2 separate regions of the Homo sapiens genome follow, and region 1 is linked to region 2. The links are contacts of gene promoters, found by promoter capture Hi-C in human tissues and cell types (Jung and others, 2019). All regions are on one chromosome and are shown on one strand. Each heading gives the region's core, a stretch centred on a gene start or on the middle of the fragment in contact. The rest is flanking DNA. Distances are from core to core; before and after follow the strand shown.

Evidence for each region. Contacts are between HindIII fragments. The study calls those that stand out against the background at their distance.
Region 1: a fragment that was not itself captured here is called in contact with the fragment with the promoter of UGDH in region 2 in 1 of the 25 tissues and cell types used here (mesendoderm cells).

What each region holds. Positions count from the first base shown.
Region 1 is chr4:40,071,270-40,075,952 of GRCh38, forward strand. N4BP2 (NEDD4 binding protein 2) reads left to right here. Exons shown (of 18, transcript NM_018177.6): 2 at 2,186-2,282. Among named protein-coding and RNA genes, the nearest start is that of N4BP2, 17 kb to the left of the region's middle. The HindIII fragment of the contact is 4,840 bases long and covers 198-4,683 here.
Region 2 is chr4:39,525,091-39,529,208 of GRCh38, forward strand. It overlaps UGDH (UDP-glucose 6-dehydrogenase), which reads right to left and starts at 2,349. Exons shown (of 12, transcript NM_003359.4): 1 at 2,193-2,349. It overlaps UGDH-AS1 (UGDH antisense RNA 1), which reads left to right and starts at 2,749. Exons shown (of 5, transcript NR_047679.1): 1 at 2,749-3,248. RefSeq lists silencers at 2,064-2,243, 2,494-2,793 and an enhancer at 3,174-3,233. The HindIII fragment of the contact is 14,033 bases long and covers 1-4,118 here.

The DNA.
Region 1 (4,683 bases), core at 1,368-3,867, 550 kb after region 2:
ATTACTTCTTCCTCTATCCCCTATATTTATTTCCTGTAAACTGGGAGTTAGATCTAAAGGTGTGAGTAGACTTAGGTTAAACAGTTTTGGAAGAGTATCTCATTTAGTAATGCTGTGTACTTCCTACTGTTTCTAGTTAAGAGGCATATAATGTCAGGTCCCACTATTTTGATGCTGTATTTGATCACCAAGCTAATGTGGTGAGAACCTGATCATTTCATTATAAAGTTATGGTTTTCTTTTTGCTTCTAGCAAGTAGTAATCTATAGGGTGGTACTTTGACATCAGGTAAATTTTTTATTTTTTATTTTTTTGAGACGGAGTTTTGCTCTTGTTGCCCAGGCTGGAGTGCAATGGTGCGATCTCGGCTCACTGCAACCTCTGTCTCTTGGGTTCAGGTGATTCTCCTGCCTCAGCCTCCCGAGTAGCTGGGACTACAGGCTCTCGCCACCACGCCCAGCTAATTATGTATTTTTAGTAGAGACGAAGTTTCGCCATATTGGCCAGGCTGGTCTTGAACTCCTGACCTCAGGTGATCCTCCTGCCTTGGCCTCCCAAAGTGCTGGGATTATAGGTGTGAGCCACTGCCCCCGGCCTCAAATTTCTTTTTTTAAAAAACATTTTTATTTTATTTTATTTTATTTTTTGACTTTTTGGAGACAGAGACTCACTCTGTCACCCAGGCTGGAGTGCAGTGGCACAATCTCAGCTCACTGCAACCTCTGCCTCCCGGGTTCAAGCGATTCTCATGCGTCAGCCTCCTGAGTAAGCTGGGACTACAAGCATTTGCCACTATGCCTGGCTAATTTTTTTTTTCTTTTTTGAGATGGAGTCTCCTTCTGTCACCCAAGCTGGAGTGCGGTGGCACAATCTCAGCTCACTGCAATCTCCGCCTTCCGGGTTCAAGTGATTCTTGTGCGTCAGCCTCCTGAGTAAGCTGAGACTACAGGCGTGTGCCACTATGCCTGGCTAATTTTTTTTTTTTTTTTTTTTTTGATATGGAGTCTCACTTTGTCGCCAGGCTGGAGTTCAGTGGCGTGATCTTGGCTCACTGCAACCTTCGACTCCCTGGTTCAAGCAATTCTCCTGCCTCAGCCTCCTGAGTAGCTGGGATTATAGGCACGTGCCACCATGCCCAGCTAATTTTTGTATTTTTAGTAGAGATGGGGTTTCGCCATGTTTGCCAGGATGGTCTTGATCTCCTGACCTCGTGATCCACCCACCTCGGCCTCCCAACGTGCTGGGATTACAGGCGTGAGCCACCGCGCTCGGCCCACCTGGCTAATTTTTGTAATTTTAGTAGAGATGAGGTTTCATCACGTTGCCCTGGCTGGTCTCCAACTCCTGAGCTCAGGCAATCCCTCCCTGTACCCCCCCAGGCCTCCCAAAGTAATAGGACTACACTCGTGAGCTACCACTCCCGGCCCCAGATAAATTTCTTTCTTTTATTTTTGTGGGACTTTTTTTTTTTTTTGGGACAGAGCCTCTCTCTGTTGCCCACGCTGGACTGCAATGGTGCCATCTCGGCTCACTGCAATCTCTGCCTCCCAGGTGATTCTCCTGTCTCAGCCTCCCTCCTGAGTAGCTGGGATTACAGGTGTGCACCACCATGCCCAGCTAATTTTTATTTTTAGCAGAGACGGGGTCTCACCATGTTGGCCAGGCTGGTCTCAAACTCCTGACCTCAAGTAATCCACCCACCTTGGCCTCCAAAGTGTTGGGATTACAGGTGTGAGCCACCGCACCTGGCCAGGTCAATTTCTTTACCAACTTTTCACCTAATGATTTTAGCATTCATTGATGATTCTTGATTAGCTATTTAATTATTGGTTAAAAAATGGTAATTAGTTTTGGGTTCTGTTGTTCCTTATACATTTAGTAGCTAGCCACCTTCTATAAAGATAAGGTTTCTCTCATCAACTAAGGCTATTTTGTTACCTGGAATTAGTGTTCTACTTAAAGGCAGAATAGATGCTTAGTTACTTTCTTTTATACAGACTTTTTCAGAGTGCAATAGTCACCTCCAGTGGCAATAAGTGCAGTCTTTCTTGTCTTTTCTCTTTTGTCACTTTCTTTTTGGAATATCATATATATTATAAATATTATAGACATTTTTGACTTTGATTTCTTTTGTGATTATAGTTTGATGTGAATTTGACTTTAATATATAACTTTCCTTTCATAGTAAGAAGACATGTTGGATAACAAGAAGAGGTGTAGAGTTTGCATATATCAACTGTGGCCTTAATGAGCATGTTGACAGCATCGATGCTAGACAGACAGTAAGTGTTATTAAAGTTGTAGAGTATGAATATTTTACACATAAGATTTTTTTTTTTTTTTAAATTGAGTCTTGCTGTATCACCTAAGCTGAAGTACAGTGGCGCAATCTTGACTCACTTCAGCCTCAAACTGCTAGGCTCAAGCGATTCTCTCACCTCAGCCTCCCGAGTAGCTGGGACTACAGGTGCATGCCACCACACCCAGCTAATTTTTGTATTTTTTGGTAGAGATGGTTTTTGTTTTTGTTTTGTTTTTTTGAGGTGGAGTTTCATTCTTGTTGCCCAGGCTGTAGTGCAATGGCATGATCTCAGCTCACTGCAACCTCTGCTTCCCAGGTTTAAGCGATTCTCCTGCCTCAGCCTCCCAAGTAGCTGGGATTACAGGCGCATGCCACCACATCCAGCTAATTTTTTATTTTTAGTAGAGACAAGTTTTCTCCATGTTGGTCAGGCTGGTCTCAAACTCCCAACCTCAGGTGATCCGCCCGCCTCAGCCTCCCAAAGTACTGGGATTACAGGCGTGAGCCACCGAGCCCTGCTTGTTTTTGCTTTTTTTTGAGATGGAGTGTTGCTCTATTGCTCAGGCTGGAGTGCAGTGGCACGATCTTGGCTCACTGCAACTTCCGTCTCCTGGGTTCATGCAACTCTTCTGCCTCAGCCTCCCAAGTAGCTGGGATTACAGATGTGTGCCACCATGCCCAGCTAATTTTTGTATTTTTAGTAGCGATGGGGTTTCACATATTGGTCAGGCTAGTCTCTTAACCCTTGACCTCAAGTGATCCACCCACTTTGACCTCCCAAAGTGCTGGAATTACAGGCGTGAGCCACCGTGTCTGGCCCAGAGATGGCGTTTTGTCATGTTGCCCAGGCTGGTCTCAAACTCCTTGGCTCAAGTGATCCGCCTGCCTCGGCCTCCCAAAGTGCTGGGACAACAGGTGTGAGCCACCACGCCTGGCCTACACAGGTTTCTAAGCTTTTACTTATATATTTGAGGGACTAAAAAAACACCTCATGAGAAGGAAAATATAATCACAGATTTTGTTACTAGAATTTTCAAAAGAGCTTTCGTGGTATAAGACATGTTGACTGAGGAAGCATAAAGAACTGAATTGTGGTGTTAGTTTTTCTATTTAATGAGTGTTTTCGTTTCTCTGCTTCTTAAAGGCCAGTCTTGGCTGGGCATGGTGCCTCACGCCTGTAATCCCAGCACTTTGGGAGGCTGTGGCAGGCAGATCACTTGAGGCCAGGAGTTTGAGACCAGCCTGGCTAACATGGCAAAACTCCGTCTCCACTAAAAATACAAAAATTAGTGGGACATGTTGGCATGCACCTATAATCCCAGCTACTTGGGAGGCTGAGACATGAGAATTGCTTGAGCCTGGGAGGCAGAGGCTGCAGTGAGCTGAGCTCTTGCCACTGCACTCCAGCCTGGGCGACAGAGTGAGACTCTGTAAAGAAAAAAAAAAAAGTAAATAAATAAAAAATAGGCCAATCTTGCTTCTTCATATTTTACATATTGTTAGCCATCCATAAATATTTGTGCACCTGTTTTATGTGTGGTACTATGCATAGTACCATTTTGGCGTATATATCATGATCCATGTTCTCAAGAAACATTATTAGTTGTAGATATAAACACATATAGATGGAAATTAATAAGTCAGTAATACCGACTGACTCTAAATTAAGCAAGACTAGTACTGCAATAAGTAGTTAAGGATTATAGACAGTATTGATGTATTATACAGAAATACACTTGGAATTAAAGGTATATATTTTTCAGCAACTGGCTTTAACATTTAACAACATGTCTCAGAGGTCTATCCAGTTTTTACACAGCTTTTCTTTTATTTATTTATTTTTTTGAGATGGAGTCTCACTCTGTCGCCTAGGCTGGAGTGCAGTGGCGCGATCTTAGCTCACTGCAACCTCTGCCTCCCAGTTAAAGTGATTCTTCTGCCTCAGCCTCCTCAGTAGCTGGGACTACAGGTGCATGCCACCATGCCTGGCTAATTTTTGTATTTTTAGTAGAGATGGGGTTTCACCATATTGGCCAGGCTGGTCTGGAACTCCTGACCTTATGATTCGCCTGCCTCGGCTTCCCAAAGTGCTGGGGTTACAGGCATGAGCCACTGTGCCAGGCCTACACATCTTATTTCTATATTCCACCAACTTTTTTTTATTACTGCATAGTATTCCAAAGGATGAGTTCTGCCATAATTTATACTGTTTTCCTAAGTGTTTAGGATGTTATAACAGATAGATACATATTTCTTTTTTTGTTTGTTTGTTTGAGACAGGGTTTTGCTTTGTTGCCCAGGCTGGAGTGCAGTGCTTTGATTACTGCCTACTGCAGCCTTGGCCTCTCAGGCCCAAACAATCCTCCTACCTCAGTCTCCTG
Region 2 (4,118 bases), core at 1,099-3,598:
TCACTTGGAAGTTTCAATAAAATCTTCAATAAGCTTTAACATGGAGTTTGACATAGTGTTAGTGACACACTTTGCATGACACAGATGTCTGCCAACTCCATTTTCTATTTCTTTTTTCTTTTTGAGACGGAGTCTCACTGTCACCGAGGCTGGAGTGCAGTGGCACCATGTCGGCTCACTGCAACCTCCGTCTCCTGGGTTCAAGCAATTCTCCTGCCTCAGCCTCCCGAGTAGCTGGGATTACAGGTGCCCACCACCACGCCCAGCTAGTTTTTATATATTTAGTAGAGACGGGGTTTCACCATATTGGTCAGGCTGGTCTCGAACTCCTGACCTCAGGTGATCCATCCACCTTGGCCTCCCAAAGTGCTGGGATTACAGGCGTGAGCCACTGCGCCCAGCCCCATTTTCTTTTCTTTTTCTTTTTTTTTTTTGAGACGTAGTCTCGCTCAGTTGCCCAGGTTGGAGTGCAGTGGCGCAATCTCGGCTCACTGAAAGCTCTGCCTCCCAGGTTCATGCCATTCTCCTGCCTCAGCCTCCCGAGTAGCTGGGACTACAGGCGCCCGCCACTACGCCCGGCTAATTTTTTTTTGTATTTTTAGTAGAGACGGGATTTCACCATGTTAGCCAGGATGGTCTCGATCTCCTGACCTCGTGATCCGCCCGTCTCGGCCTCCCAAAGTGCTGGGATTACAGGCGTGAGCCACCACGCCCGGCCCCCATTTTCTATTTCTACTTTTATGTACCCTCTGGCCCTCTATTCTGCTGTCAGAGACATAGGAGTGTTTCCTTATTAAATGGGTTATTTTGAAATGAGTTTTTACCTCTGTATTTTGGGAGAGTCACAACAAACCAAACCGTTCCAAAACTACTCTTCATGTAAAATTTCATAAATTCAAATAAACATTCCAACCCAGAAGGGGTCACTAACAAATAACAAATGCCCTACTACAATCTAAACGGAATATAATCCTTCTAGCCCCAGCTCTCTACAGCATATTTTGCATAGGTACCCAGGAGCTAACGATGGGCATTATAGTTGGATACATCAGCTTCACACATTTTAATCATTTCCAGAAATTAAACAGTAAAAGATGCCTGACCAGAGAAAAATATTTAATCAGTAAGAAAGCCGGTATTAATTTTATGTCTAAGGGTTATCATGTAAAGCTGTGGAAGTAAACAAGAAGGAAGATGGATTATGCTTATCCAGTTATAGATTTTGTTAGAAAAAGGAGTACAGCAACGGGAGAAGAAATGAGATCTTTTCAATCAGGGTTGTCTACCCCTTACCTTAAACTGGATCCTGGCCACTAATAAGCACATCTCAGAGCAGACAGTCAGCTCTTTCATTTCCAGAACCCCCCTGAAGAAAGACTACTGTTCTCCATTTCTTAAGGGATTTGAAGAAACTCAAAGGCTCACTGTGTCTTTGAGGTCTGTCGATAGACAGCTACTGCTCTGTATGCCCATGAATAGATCCCTACCAGCGAACCCCTCTTTTCTCTATACTAGAATTCCTAACCCTACTAAGTTATCTTCCTATATATTTATAGGACGTATAATTTTTCAAGATCTCACACAAACATGGTCTCCCGAGGCACCCAGGAAAGGCCTTCCCCGACATCAAACAGAGCAATTCTGTGGTGTAGGGGGCCAACAATGGATTCCAGGACATCCCGGACAGATATCACGGCAGTCTTAGTATTTTGCTCTCAAGAGGGCTTTCTGGCTTCGTTTCTCTTTGGTTTCTTAAGAGGGGCGGCATGAGAAAAGCAGGAGCCCCTCAGGTGAGCAGACTCTTAAACACAAACAAAAGACTACGACTCTGCGGCCAAAATGAGGTCCCCAACGAGAGAACCGCTTCCTGTGGTGGGCGTTCGGCTTTGGAGGCGGCAGGGAAATCTCATCCAAGTCAGGAAAGTGGGTAAAGGCAGAAAGAGAAGGGGCTGGAAGACTCACGAGTCTTGAATAAGAAGCCCAGACGACCACATCCCCAGGACAGCAGTTCCAAAATGCGGTTCCCGCCCTAAGCCCCAAAGAGACGAAGGTCGTGAGACGGGAAGCCCGGGACCCAGCGCAGCGAGCGACCGGGAGCAGCGCGCACACCCCAGCCCCGCTCCCTCCACATCCCGCCCAGACCTGGGAGCATCCCGCCCGGGCGGCGGGGCCAGCCTGGGAGCGGCGCTTACCCACTTCCCAGCAGCAAGCGCAGGGACCGCTCCTATCCCGATCGTTCGGACAGCACCTTCCTACGGGCCGCGCCGCCGCAGCTTCTCCACCCGCGCCCCGCTCGATCTGAGCTCCCTCTCGGCGCACGCCCCTCCCTCAGGCTGCCACGCGTTACACTCTGAGTCCCGGGCCTGAGCCCGTATTTAAAGGCTTTTGCCTGCGAAGGCGGAGGCTTCATTCCCCCGCAGCCAGGCCCTCCTGGATTCTGCCCTCAGCTGCTTCCTAGCTCCCCCTCCCGCTACACAAGGCCCAGGGCCAGGTCCCTATTTCCTTCACGGCTCAGGGGCGGGGAGACTGGGGCTGGTCCTGGCTGGGAGGGCCTGCCCCGCCCCTGGCCTAGCTGGGCAAATCCGCTTTGGCCAGCTCAGCGGCTCCGCCCCTACCGCGAGCGGCGCTGGGCGGGGCTGCGTGCGTGGCGTGTCCGCTGGACCAGGGGACGGGGGCGCGCCGCAGGTGTAGGAGCTTTGCGCGCCTACCTGGCGGTCGTGGGTCGAGGAGGGGTCAAGAATTGTTGTCTAGCAGCCCTCTCCCCGCTGCCCTGTCCTGGCCGAGGCAAAGGCCGCGTGCGCTCCGCGTCTGCCAGGCTTTAGGGCTGCGCGGACACTGGGTGGGTGGTGGGCCGAGGCGACCGGAAGGTCCTGGCCGCCTTTCCGGTCTCCTCAGCACCCTGGAGCGCCGCCCTCGGGTTTCGGTCTCCTGGATCTGCGGGTCGGTCTCGGCGGGCGGATTACTCCTCGCCCACAACCTCGAGGCCCCGGGGTCAACCGCGCCCTCCGGGCCGGCAACCCAGGGTTTAGTCAGATTCCTCCTGACCCACCGCTTCTGGGAAAGAGGCGCCTCCCGTCAGGAGGATGCTGAGTTCCTCATGACTGGACCAGTGAGTGTCCACTCCCTGGTCCCTGGCGAGAGAGGCGGGACCCCCACGCCCTCCTGGCGCTCTTTGCAGAGATGTTCCTCAGGCCCAATCCGGGATTTGGGATGTCTGTGCGTGCTGTGGAGCAGAGAGTTTGCAACATGTAAGTGCCGTGCGTGAGGAAGAGTAAAATTAACCTATGGAGCCTGCTCATTTTTAATGTGGAGGGCAGTTCCGTTCCTTTCTTTCGCCGCTTCGAGGTCATTTTAACACTCAAATCTAACATATAAGAAAAAAAGCCAGGCATAATCATGGCCTTTTATTTCCCTCATTAAGGATTACATCAGGTGACATAAGCCATTTTAACATACATCATGAAGAAAGTGATTAGTAATTTATAAAGGCACATTAAAATACCATATAAATTACGGTTTTCTTGATAGGATCATGATGGTGACTTTAAGAAAGTGGTTGAATGTGGATGAAACAGTTTGCTGTGGATTGTAGCACGTGTGGCAGGATATGTAGGCTTGTTGGTTGGTTGTTTTGAGACGGAGTCTCCCTCTTGTCGCCGAGGCTGGAGTGCAGTGGTGCGATCTCGGCTCACCTCAACCTCCTCCTTCCAGATTCAAACGATTCTCCTGCCTCAGCCTCCCGAGTAGCTGGGATTACAGGCGCCCACAACCATGCCCGGCTAATTTTTATATTTTTAATAGAGACCGGGTTTTGCTATGTTGACCAGGCTGGTCTCAAACTCCTGACCTCAGGTGATCCGCCCGTCTCGGCCTCCCAAAGTGCTGGGATTACAGGTGTGAGCCACTGTGCCTGGCCAGTATATGTAGGCTTTCTGCATTCTATGCAGTTCAGTTCATTCATCCAACAAATATTTAATGCCTGTTGTGTGTCAGACGTTATCCTAAAGACTGAAGATGCAAAAGGGATTAAGACTCAATTCCTTTGGCCAGGCACGGTGGTTTACGCCTGTAATCCCAGCACTTTGGGAGGCCATAGCGGGCGGATCACCTGAGGTCAG